Regions from separate parts of the Homo sapiens genome. Here region 1 is linked to region 2. The links are contacts of gene promoters, found by promoter capture Hi-C in blood cells and fetal thymus (Javierre and others, 2016). All regions are on one chromosome and are shown on one strand. The core of a region is centred on a gene start or on the middle of the fragment in contact, and the rest is flanking DNA. Distances in the headings are between cores, read along the strand shown.

Region 1 (5,884 bases), core at 2,440-4,939, 190 kb before region 2:
GGCACAAGCCACTACACCTGGCTATTTTTTTTTTTTTTTTTTTTTGAGACGGAGTCTGGCTCTGTCGCCCAGGCTGGAGTGCAGTGGCGCCATCGCGGCTCACTGCAAGCTCCGCCTCCCGGGTTCACGCCATTCTCCTGCCTCAGCCTCCCGAGTAGCTGGGACCACAGGTTCCCACCACCATGCCCGGCTAATTTTTTTGTATTTTTAGTAGAGACAGGGGTTTCACTGTGTTAGCCAGGATGGTCTCGATCTCCTGACCTCGTGATCCACCCGCCTCAGCCTCCCAAAGTGCTGGGATTACAGGCATGAGCCACCGCACCTGGCCATGGCTATTTATTTTTATTTTTATTTTTATTTATTCATTTATTTATTTTTTGAGACGGAGTCTCGCTCTGTCGCCCAGGCTGGAGTGCAGTGGCACTATCTCGGCTCACTGCAAGCTCCGCCTCCTGGGTTCATGCCATTCTCCTGCCTCAGCCTCATGCCATTCTCCTGCCTCAGCCTCCCGAGTAGCTGGGACTACAGGCGCCCGGCACCACGCCCAGCTAATTTTTTTTTGTATTTTCAGGAGAGACGGGGTTTCACCGTGTTAGCCAGGATAGTGTCGATCTCCTGACCTTGTGATCCGCCCACCTCGGCCTCCCAAAGTGCTAGGATTACAGGCGTGAGCCACCACGCCTCGCTATTTTTTTATTTTTGTAAAGACAGGGGTCTCCCTGTGTTATCCAGGCTGGTCTCGAACTCCTGGGCTCGAGCAATGTTCCCACGTCCGCCTTCCAAAATGTTGGGATCACAGGCTTGAGCCATCGCACAGGGTCCTCTCTGTTCCTTTCCTTTCAGCATGCAGCACAATTTGTAATGATACATGTTTTGCAAATTTTATAAATGTTTAGTTATTTCAGGTCCATTTCCACTACTAGATGGGAAACTCCTTGAGGGAGGGGATATCTGTCTCCCTCAGGGTTGATCTTCCTTGTAACGTGTCTGACGCATGATCAACACTGGTTTAATAAATACTGTGCCTGCCAGGAGCAGTGGCTCACACCTGTAATGCCAGCACTTTGGAAGGCTGAGGCAGGTGGATCACTTGAGGTCGGGAGTTTGAGACCAGCCTGGCCAACATGGCAAAACCCCGTCTCTACTAAAAATACAAAAATTAGCCGGGCGCGGTTGCGGGCGCCTGTAATCCCAGCTACTCGGGAGGCTGAGGCAGGAGAATCACTTGAACCCGGGAGGCGGAGGTTGCAGTGAGCTGAGATCGTGCCACTGCACTCCTGCCTGGGTAACAGGGCAAGACTGCGTCACAATAAATAAATACTGTCCCCACTAAATATCTTCCAGTTCTCTACATGCTGTGACTGCCACTCCAGCCTGTCCTGCCACCTTTTCTCACTCCTTTCCTACCTAACTCAAACTCAGCCCACATTGAAGACTCCTGCTTCTCCAAACCCCTCCCCTCTCCATCTTGTTCTTTGTTCATTGTTTCTTCCATACAATAGAGCTCCTTTAAGGATCATCTCAAGCATTGTGACACATTTTCTGATCCCCAATACATGATCTGTCCCTGCTTTGAACCCCAAAGTATTTTGTAACTAATGACACTCCTATCCTGCCTTGCCTTAATCCTCACTTCTAGAGTAAGTGGGTGCTGATAACAACAGGGCTGAAAACCATGACCCTATAGTAATTTTTTAAAATCCCAGTACTTTGGGAGGCTGAGGCGGGTGAATTGCTTGAGGTCAGGAGTTCAAGACCAGCTTCGCCAATATGGTGAAACCCCATCTCTACTAAAAATACAAAAATTAGCCAGGCATGGTGGCATGCACCTATAATCTCAGCTACTTGGGAGGCTGAGGCAGGAGAATCACTTGAACTCAGGAGGTGGAGGTTGCAGTGAACCAAAATCGCACCACTGCACTCCAGCCTGGGCAACAGAGTGAAACTCTGTCTCAAAAAAATAAAAATAAAAATAAAAACAGGCCGGGCGTGGTGGCTCATACCTGTAATCACAGCACTTTGGGAGGCCAAGGCAGGCGGATCACCTGAGGTCGGGAGTTCAAAACCAGCCTTGCCAACATGGCACAACCCCGTGTCTACTAAAAATACAAAAAATTAGTTGGGCATGGTGGCAGGCGCCTGTAATCCCAGCTATTCAGGAGGCCGAGGCAGGAGAATCGCTTGAACCTGGGAGGCAGAGGTTGCAGTGAGCCGAGGTCGCGCCACTGTATTCCAGCCTGGGCGACAGAGCAAGACTCCATCTCAAAATAATAATAATAATAATAATAAAATTAAAAACCTAGTATGCATCAGAACCACAAGATGAGCTTATTAAAATACAGATTCTCAGGCCCGAAAGAGTGCTTCAGTAGGAATCTGTGTTATTTCAAGCATTCTTTATGACTTTGATGCCCACCAGGGTAAGAACATTATAATAAGTTAACTTAAAGTGACCAGAATCCCCAGACCTAAGGCTCACTGATTAAGTCTTAGGAAATGGAGGGAGTTCAGAGGTTGAATCCCCACCCTTCGTCCTCCAAGAGGTTAGATGAACAAAGACTCCAAAGTTTATTTGCCTTTCCTTTTTAATCCTCTTCTTACTCCAACTCTTTAAAAAAAAAACTGCCCAGAAAACCCAGTAATTAAGCAAAAGGGAGCTCAAAGAGCCAAGGCAAGCCAGCCCAAGAGTAGCAGGGTCCCTCCCGCAGGGGCCAAAGTCTGGATGCTGGGGTCTCCACTCAGAGCCTGGTAGTAAAAGCTGGTGCAGAATAAGGTCGTTCCGGAAGCTAGCAATAACCCAGCCTGAAGGAGACACAGCACAGAAAACAGGATTGTTAAGAACAGGGCAGGCTGAGAGGGAGTGTGTGGGGCTTGGTCAGGGTTAGGCGCAGGGAAAGATTACCCAGAGTGGCTTTCTGCAATGGGGCACCCCTAACAGGGCCAGGCTGTGTAAGAAGTGGTGTTTGTTGGCCTTGTCAAACAGCTGTAAGAAAAACAGAAACGAAGGGATGTCGTAGGCAATACAGGTACTGAGATCCCCTGATGACACAAGGGACCAAAGTTCCTTCCCCCACCCCACCCTTGAAGTCCCAGCTTGATCCCAGGCCTTTGGCTTACAGAGCCTTTGGCCTTTGCTGCTCCAGAGATCCGCGGCTCGCCCCACCCTCTCCCCGCCCACTTCCCCCAGGGACCCCAGACTTTGTGCCTTCGTAGACCCACGAGTCAGGGAGCCCCAGCGCAGTTACTTCACCTCCTTCCCGTAGGCATCTGGGAATTGGGCGCCTGTGGAGAAAAGAAGCAAAGGTTAGCGGTCCTAGTGCCAGCCCTGACCGCCCCCAATCCGGGGGGACCCAGGTGGACATTGGCGAGAAAGGGCACCCCCCCCCCCGCCCCAGGAAGCTTCCGATTGGTGGGAACACGCTCGGGCAGTACTGGGAACCAATTGGACCCAGCTGGGGGACTTTAAAAGGTTTAGGGCTCCGCGGACTGTCTGATAAACGAGAGGCCGGGCACCTCCCATAGGTTACGCCCTTGCAGCAGACCCCAGAGGACGCCCCAAGTACAGTCCCATCTTCGTCCCCAGCCCCCTGACCGTGCGCCCCGTAGGAAGCGAAGCCTAAGGCCGCAGCTCCGGACAAGGCGCCCAAGCGGCGGAAAGCTGCAGCTGGCCCGGCCATAGCTGTAGAACAGGACGCACCGGACCAACGCCGCCCAGGCCACCCAAGAGGCCAGCCAATCCCGACCGCCCATGCAAATAAGGTTCACAGGCGCCCAATCCGGGCCGTGTTCATTTCAGCATTGCGCTCTTCACCCGCCTTTGTAAAACCGCTGCAGAGTGGCGAAGACGTCTGGCGGGCGGAGAAACCAGCACCAATTAGGAACAGAGGAGCTAAGCAGTGGGGGGGCGGGGTTGAGGGCGGGACTAGGGGGATTTGCGTCAAGGATTGGCCCACTTTCCAAGTTGATCGCCTCTTCGAACCCCCCACCCCCATGCTCCGGCCAATTTCCAAAGATCCCGGTCTTCTCTCAAAGTTCCGCCCCTTTTTCCACAGGCTCCTCCTGTTCAGCTTCAAATCAAACCCACTACCAAAAAGAGGCGGCCCGAAAGATAGCAAAGCCCCACCTATTGCCAGTAAACCCCGCCCACTGCACAAATGGCCCCTCCCCCATGTCTGAAGGCTCCGCCTTCTTTGTATGATGCCCCGCCCCCTGTAGTTAAGATATTCTCCCCCCCGCCAGCCCTCCGAGACCGCGAGAGCCCCGAGGGTGGGAGATCCGGGGGAATGTCTCCACCCTGCCCTGGCCCGCTACGTCCATCTGTCCGTCTGTCCGCTCCCGCCTCTTCCCACCATCTCCAATCCCCCCATTCTCCGGAGGGCGGGCGGGCAGGCGGGTGCGAGCGGGGGGTGCGAGCGGGGGGTGTGCGCCGCTCTCTCGGCAGGGGGCGGGGGAGGCGGCCGCGCGGTGACGCGCGGGGCTGCTGCGGCTGCTCCGCCGGCGGATCATCACTCTCGGGCTGGGATGGACGCGGGGCGGGCCGGCCCTGGCGCGCGGAGCCAGGAGTCCGGGCCTCCCGGCTGCTGAGCGTCCCTCGAAGCCTCCCCTCACCCCCGCCTTCCCTCCTAGGATCCGCGCTGACCCCCGCCCCGGGGCTCTGGACTCGGCTCCCGCCCTCCTCTGACTCCCCGGACCTCCCCCTCACGCCCGCCCTCGGGATCGACTAGATCCCTCCCCCTCCCCGAGGATTCCGGCTGGATCCCTGCCCCTGCACCGCGGATCCTGCGCTCCCGGGCCCCGGGCCCCTGGGGATTAACGTGGACTCCTCCTCCAGCACCCGATCCTTAGGATCCTCCGCCTGGACCGCCTTCTGGTCCCTCGAAGCCGGCCCACGGAACCAGCGGATCCTCAATCTAGTCCTGTCCCGTTGCCCCCTCCTTTCTCTATCGTCCCTACTGCGGGGTTCCCTGTTCTCGGGCTCCCCCTGATCCCATCCCCTAGCTCTCCTTTTCCCGGGGATCGACTGGATCCCGGCCCCGCCCCCCGGGGCTGGGGCGATCCCCCTCCCCCGCCGGGTGAGGCGCTGCGGGCGGGGGCTGGGCCTGCGGGGCCGCGGGGGCTCAGAGGCCGCCGCCCCCTCCCGAAGGCCTTTCGCCCCCCACTCGGAGCCCTGGATGGAGGCACCACGGCCCCAGGGCTGAGCCAGGTAGGACCTAAGCCGGGTCGGTGGAGGGGGCTGCGTGGCGGTCCACTGGGGTCTCCCTCTCCCCATCTCCCTCCCTGCGCCTGGTTTCCCCCAGCCTGCTCTGTCTGCGTGTCTCCGCCTAGGGATGCTCTCGCCGTGTCTCTGCGTCTTGGTCTCTTTGTCTCTGCCTCTCTCCAGTCCATGAATGATCCTTTGAATGGGCCCACAGACCCCGTGTGTTCCCATCTCCCCCTCCCCCTCCTTCTCCCCTTCCCAGCCAAGCCATTTTCACCACTGCAGGAAGGGGGGGCCTGCGGCCTGAGCCCCCGTCCCTCAACTCTCCCCGGCTGGGGGAGTCAGGCCTGGGCAGGAATGGAGAGAGAAGGCAGAGGGATAGGGAGAAGGAGGAGGGAGCAAGATGTGGCAGACAGAGATGAGGAGAGAAAATGGGGGAGACAGTGATGGGGAAAGACAGGAGAGAGAGACAGAAGGCTTAAGGGGGAAATTTGGGGAAGGCATTTGGAGAGAGAGAAAGAAATGAGAAACACCAAGGAGAGAGATACAGAAGAGAAAGATGTAAAAAGACCGAGGGTGAGAGACTGAAGGCAAGAGCTGGGGCAAGCTGGAAGAGGCCCACAAAAGATGCTCCCAGGGAGCACTACGGAGAGGAGAGAGATGGGGGGGCCTCCAGTGGGAGGGAAG
Region 2 (6,056 bases), core at 565-3,064:
GGGATTACTGTCTGGATCCTTCAGCACTGGTCAGAGGAAGAAGAGGAGGAGTTGGCAGTCAGGTGCCCATCATCTTTCCTTTTGGCCCATATTCATGAACCCAGCTGTCTGGTACCTGAGCTAATAGATGAAGAATTGTATCTCGAAGTGGGCCGGGGGGCAGGTGGGGGTCCCCTACCCCGGCCCCCAGTCGGCCGCCTCCGGCTTTCTTCCCCTCGGGTTGGGGGATCCCTGTCGCCAGGCCCAGCTCGGTTGGGCTCCTCTCTCTTCTCTGACTCAGTCTCTGAAGCTGTAGACACATCTGAGCTGGGGCCTGAAGAACACAATGGGATTTATTCACGGCCATTCATCCCACCTCAGGATCCATCACATCCCCCAAACTGGAAGAATTCTCCTTCTCACTCACAAGCCTCCCAGCCAATCAATCACTTTTTCATCATCTCCATTCCAGATTTCCCCAAACTTCCATCCAGACCTCTGCCTCTACCCACAAGCCCTGCCACTCCTTGCCTCCTGTTCCCATAACTGTCTCACCATAGGCAGGACCGCCTGTCCTCCGGCCACGGCCACGGCCCCCATAGCTGCCCCCATAGGTTCGAGTCGCATGGAGGGAGGAGGAGGAGCTCTCATCAGTGCTATATCCAGCCTTGTCGCTGCCACCGCTGCCCCGCCCACTCCCAGGAGGGCGAAAGCCCAGCCCAATCTGCCGAAGCTGCTCATCAATTTGTAGCCTCTCCAAGCGAAGCTGCTCTACCTCCTGGTTGGGTAAAAGATGGAAGAAGGGGAAGGAGAAATAAGATCAGTGCCTTGCTTCATGCTTCTGCACCCTGACTGTCCCTCTATATCTAACCTCTCAGGAATGCAGGGAGAAGGAAGACACTGGCTAAACAAGGAAAATTCTGGGACCCAACCCTATAGCCCCAAATTTCCACAGATGTTTTCTGTTCTACACGGAGAGACAAACAGAGAACCAAAATCCCTGAGCTGACCCCCACAGCAGTCTTAGTTCCCTTTTCACACCCAGCATTTTTCTCTCCCGGCCTGGGTACCTGCAGGTAGGAGAGGTGATACTCCAGCAAAGCCTGGGCATTGCTGATGTTCTCTCGGGTGCCAACAAAAATGAAGGGAACCATTCCCTAGAGAACAGAGAGCAGAAACGATGGATCAGAAAGGAAAATGAAATGGAAGGATTAACGCCGCCCAGTCTCCTAGGGGAGCCTGCCCAGTGGGATCATTCTGGGCTCTAAATCTACTAGTGTTAAACAACTTTCCGTACTCCACCCTCTCAAAGAACAATCCCAGCCCTCAGAGGACAATCCCATTTACTTCTGGAAACCAATCTCTATGCCCACTTGCCCCGTACCCATACCTCCTCCCTGGGGTTCTTCTTGTCATTATCACCTTCCACTCGAACCCTCACCACACCAGATTTATCCACAATCTCCTGGATCACTTTCCCGTTCTTTCCAATCACTTTGCCTGGAATAGGTAAATGAGGAATTCAGCCTTTTATTTTTTTTAAGGAAATAAGAATAAAGCTGATACACCGTCTTCCAGCCTCATTTTCTTTATATGGATTCCATTTACTTCATTCTCCTGCTTCTAGGTTTCTGATGTGTTTTTACAGGACAAAATGTTACAATCCCTAGAAATTTATTCTTTCATTTTTATCACTCCCATTACAGACTGTTTCTCTGTCCTTGTGAAACTGGGAGTCCACAGGGAGGTGCCAATCCTGGATAAAAGCTCAGAATCACTGTAGAGAATCTTGATTCTGACCTCTAACTGTATATACACACCACCAACTCACCAACCAGGTTCCTGGGCACTTGCACTGAGTCCTCAGAAAACTCAAGGTAGCTTCGGGCCTGTCGGCAAGCCTCGGGAGTCTAAAGGAAGAACAGCAGGGAGTTGTTACTAAAACAGAAGACCAGCTGGATGTGGTGGCTCACGCCTGTAATCCCAGCACTTTGGGAGGCTGGAGGCAGGTGGATAAATTGAGCTCAAGAGTTCAAGACTAGCCTGGGCAATATGGTGAAACGCCATCTCTACTAAAAATACAAAAATCAAAATACAAAAATACTAAAATACTAAAAATACAAAATTGGTGGCTCACGTCTCTAATCCCAGCTACTCCGGAGGCTGAGGCAGGAGATTTCTTGAACCCAGGAGGCAGAGGTTGCAATAAGCTGAGATTGTGCCACTGCACTCTAGCCCGGGCAACAGAGTGAGTTAGACTCCATCTCATAAAAAAAAAAAATTAAACAAATAAATAACTTAAAAAAAAAAACAGAGGACCTTGGCCAGGCACAGCGGCTCACACCCATAATCTCAACAGTTTCGGAGGCTAAGAAGGGAGGATTGCTTGAGGCTAGGAGTTAACAACCAGCTTGGGCAACAGAGATCTGGTCTATTTTTTTGATTTTTTGGTCTCACTCTATTGACTATGTTGCCCAGGTTGGTTCAGTGGCACCATCATGGTGTACTGCAGCCTTGACTTTCCAGGCTCAAGTGATCCTCCTGCCTCCGCCTCCCAAGTAGCCAAGTAGCTGGGGCCACAGATGCATGCCACCACGCTCAGTTAACGTTTTTTGGTTTTTGGTTTTTTTGGGGGGTAAAGACAGGGTCTCTCTATGTTGTCCAGGTTGTTCTCCAACTCCCAGGCTCAAGTGATCCTCCCCTCTATCTTCCCATTTCAGCCTCCCAAGTACCTGCGACTACAGGTACGCACCACTACTTCCAGCTAATTTTTAAATTTTTGTAGAGATTGGGTCTCACTATGTTGCACAGGCTGGTCTCAAACTCCTAGGCTCAAGTGATCCTCTCACTTTGACCTCCGAAGGTGCTGGGATTACAGGTGTGAGCCACTGTGCCCAGTTTGAGGCTTATTTTCTACTTCGGCCTCTCTTCCCTCTATCCCCTAAGAGACCCAGAAGAAAGACATCCTTTGCTGACCTCCCCATAGATGCGGAAAGTGCAGGTCTCTTCACCCAACTCAATGGCGGTCACCCCAGGTACTTTTCGGGCCTGCTGGATGTTGGCACCGTGAGTCCCAATTGCCAGTCCCATCAGGTCCTCTCGCACTGTGAACTCCTCTTGGAAGGCTGCTGCCAACTGCTTGCTTGTCTGAAAGGAAAAGTCACTGTAGGAATCATGGTGGTAGAATCTCACAGTCCCAGGCACACGACCCTTTGCATAACTTAAATAAGGAAAACTGTGTGATATTAATAGAAAGCTAGAACCACTCTGGAGTCCGCGGACCACGAGGACCTGTGTGGAAAGGTCAGGAACTTTTTGTTTTTTCTTTGAGATGGCGTCTCGCTCTGTCGCCCAGGCTGGAGTGCAGTGGCGCGATCTCAGCTCACTGCAACCTCCGCCTCTCGACTTCAAGTGATTCTCATGCCTCGGCCTCCTGAGTAGCTACGACTACAGGTGTCCACCACCATGCCTGGCTAATTTCTGTATTTTTAGTAGAGACAAGGTTTCACCATGTTGGCCAGGCTGGTCTCAAACTCCTGACCTCAGGTGATCCGCCCGCCTCAGCCTCCCAAAGTGCTGGGATTACCGGCATAAGCCACCACGCCCGGCCAAGGTCAGGAACTTTTAATTCCACTCCTTCCAAATACCAGTGGTTTGTGGGGGAGGAAAGGTAAAGAGGGCAGAGTTTGGACTGGGACACACCGAAGTTCTGGATTTGGCCCTAACAGTATCTGTCCCTAAGAGTATCTATCTGTGTGATCTTAAACAAAACATACTCTGCCTCTTGTGTCATCTGCTAAGTGATTATATCCAACTTATCTTATTCTCAAGACTAGCAAGAGGATTAGACAAGGCTGGTGTGAAAGTACTTCTCACAAGGTACATGCAAGTGTAAGGAACTCTTACCTTAATCAAACAAATATCAACTCATCCCCAAATAAAACTCAACAACTTAAGTAAAAAGTGAGGGGTAGGCTGTGCGCGGTGGCTCACGCCTGTAATTCCAGCACTGTGGGAGGCTGAGGCAGGTGGATCACAAGGTCAGGAGATCAAGACCATCCTGCCAACATAGTGAAACCCCATCTCTATTAAAAATACAAAAATTAGCTGGCCTTGGTGGGGTGTGCCTATAATCCCAGCTGCTTGGGAGGCTGAGGCAGGAGAATTGCTTGAACCAGGGAGTTGGAGGTTACAGTGAGCCGAGGTCATGCCACTGCACTCCAGCCTGGTGACAGAGCAAAACTCTGTCTCAAAAAAAAGTGAGGGGTTAAGAAAAACAGAAAACATGCCTCTAGAACACCAGGCTTTCACTTCATTTCTCAATCAGTCCTTAGAGGAACCCCTGGGTTCAGGGGCAGGAAGACAGGAAAGGTTTTAGAGGAGTGAATCCCATGTTGTAAGCACCAAATAGAAACAATACCTGAAAGGAGACATTCCTAGATTGAAATACACTACTTCCCACTTCCAAGTTGGATAGGACTGAATTATACCAAGGATTTATACCAGGCAAGAAGAGAAAGTTGGAAAAATAAACTAAGTTGAGTGTTCAAAATCACTACATTAGGAGGGGAGGGGAAGAGATCTACAATGACCTATAAGCGTCTTCTAGATAAGCTTGCAGAACAGCTGGGTTTTCTTTTTTTTTTTTCTTTTTTTTGAGATGGGGTCTGTCACCCAGGCTAGAGTGCAGTGGCATGATCTCTGCTCACTGCAACTTCTGCCTCCCTTTTTTTGTATTTTTAGTAGAGAAGGGGTTTCACCATGCTGGCCAGACTGGTCTCAAACTCCTAACCTCAGGCAATCCACCTGCCTCGGCTTCCCAAAGTGCTGGGATTGCAGGCGTGAGCCGCTGCACCCGGCCCCTTTCCGGTTTTTAGAGGCTTCACTACTAGGCATGACTGATTAAATCACTGATCCTCAGTGATTGCCTTAACCTTTGGCCCCATTCCCCTCCCAGGAAGTTGGTGGGGGTGAGGCTGAAAGTTCCAACCCTCTAATCATGAAGCCACCTAGAGGGGCTAGCCATGAATCAACTCATCAGCACACAAAAACACACATCACTGGAGATTCCAAGGATTTTAGAAGTTGAATGCCAGGAGCCTGGTCAGGAGACCAAATATGTATCTCTCAGTATCACAGAGCCTGTCAGTCCTACTGGTTTTACTCGTAAAATTTATCCTACATAAAACTACTCTCTCTCTCTTCCTTTAGCACTCCAGTTCAAGTTTCTCACCTGGACTACTGTGCTCTGTTCCTGCTTCCATTCTTGCCCCCCTTTCCATCTGTCATTGAAACAGGAGTTTAAAACAGAAGGCACTTTCGGCCGGGCACAGTGGCTCTCGCCTGTAATCCCAGCACTTTGGGAGGCCGAGGTGGGTGGATCACGAGGTCAGGAGATCAAGACCATCCTGGCTAACACGGTGAAACCCCATCTCTACTAAAAAAAAATACAAAAAAATCAGCCGGGCGTGGTGGCAGGCGCCTGTAGTCCCAGCTTCTCGTGAGGCTGAGGCAGGAGAATGGCGTGAACTTGGGAGGTGGAGCTTGCAGTGAGCCGAGATCACGCCAATGCACTCCAGCCTGGGTGACAGAGCGAGACTCCGTCTCAAAAACAAAACAAAACAAAACAAAACAAAAAACCAGAAGGCACTGTTAACTCAATGGCTTCTCAGTATACGCACAATAAAATCCCCCCTCCTCAGCCTACCGTACATGTCTTACATGATCTACTCTCTGACCGAATTTTGTATCGGTCTCCCTTTGCTCACTCTGCGCTAACTACACAAGCTGCAGTGAGCTGAGATCGCACTACTGCACTCCAGCCTGGACGACAGAATGAGACTCCGTCTCAAAAAATTAAAAAACAACAACAAAAATTAGGCCGGGTGCAATGGGTCATGTCTATAATCCCAGCACTTTGGGAGGCCAAGGCAAGTGGATCCCTTGAGGCCAGGGGTTCGCGACCAGCCTAGCCAACATGGTGAAACTCCGTCTCTACTAAAAATACTGAAATTAGGGCCAGGTATAGTGGCTCATGCCTGTAATCCCAGTACTTTGGGAGGCCAAGGCAGGTGGAT

The links. The method cuts DNA at HindIII sites, captures the fragments that hold promoters and counts their contacts. A CHiCAGO score of 5 or more calls a contact.
Region 1: a contact is called between the fragment with the promoter of TMEM256 here and a fragment that was not itself captured in region 2, in 11 of 17 cell types (total CD8 T cells, naive B cells, naive CD4 T cells and 8 more). The highest score is 7.7, in total CD8 T cells.

What each region holds. Positions count from the first base shown.
Region 1 is chr17:7,400,408-7,406,291 of GRCh38, forward strand. It overlaps TMEM256 (transmembrane protein 256), which reads right to left and starts at 3,690. Exons shown (of 4, transcript NM_152766.5): 1 at 3,593-3,690; 2 at 3,251-3,282; 3 at 2,903-2,983; 4 at 2,568-2,802. The coding sequence starts at 3,677. The coding sequence ends at 2,659. It overlaps TMEM256-PLSCR3 (TMEM256-PLSCR3 readthrough (NMD candidate)), which reads right to left and starts at 3,724. Exons shown (of 10, transcript NR_037719.1): 1 at 3,593-3,724; 2 at 3,251-3,282. It also overlaps a transcript of NLGN2 not described here. RefSeq lists an enhancer at 3,499-3,678 and a silencer at 4,169-4,498. The HindIII fragment of the contact is 6,317 bases long and covers 3,398-5,884 here.
Region 2 is chr17:7,592,869-7,598,924 of GRCh38, forward strand. It overlaps FXR2 (FMR1 autosomal homolog 2), which reads right to left. Exons shown (of 17, transcript NM_004860.4): 8 at 2,956-3,126; 9 at 1,811-1,889; 10 at 1,370-1,479; 11 at 1,050-1,136; 12 at 535-757; 13 at 116-313; 14 at 1-26. Among named protein-coding and RNA genes, the nearest start is that of SOX15, 5.8 kb to the left of the region's middle. The HindIII fragment of the contact is 5,554 bases long and covers 1-4,591 here.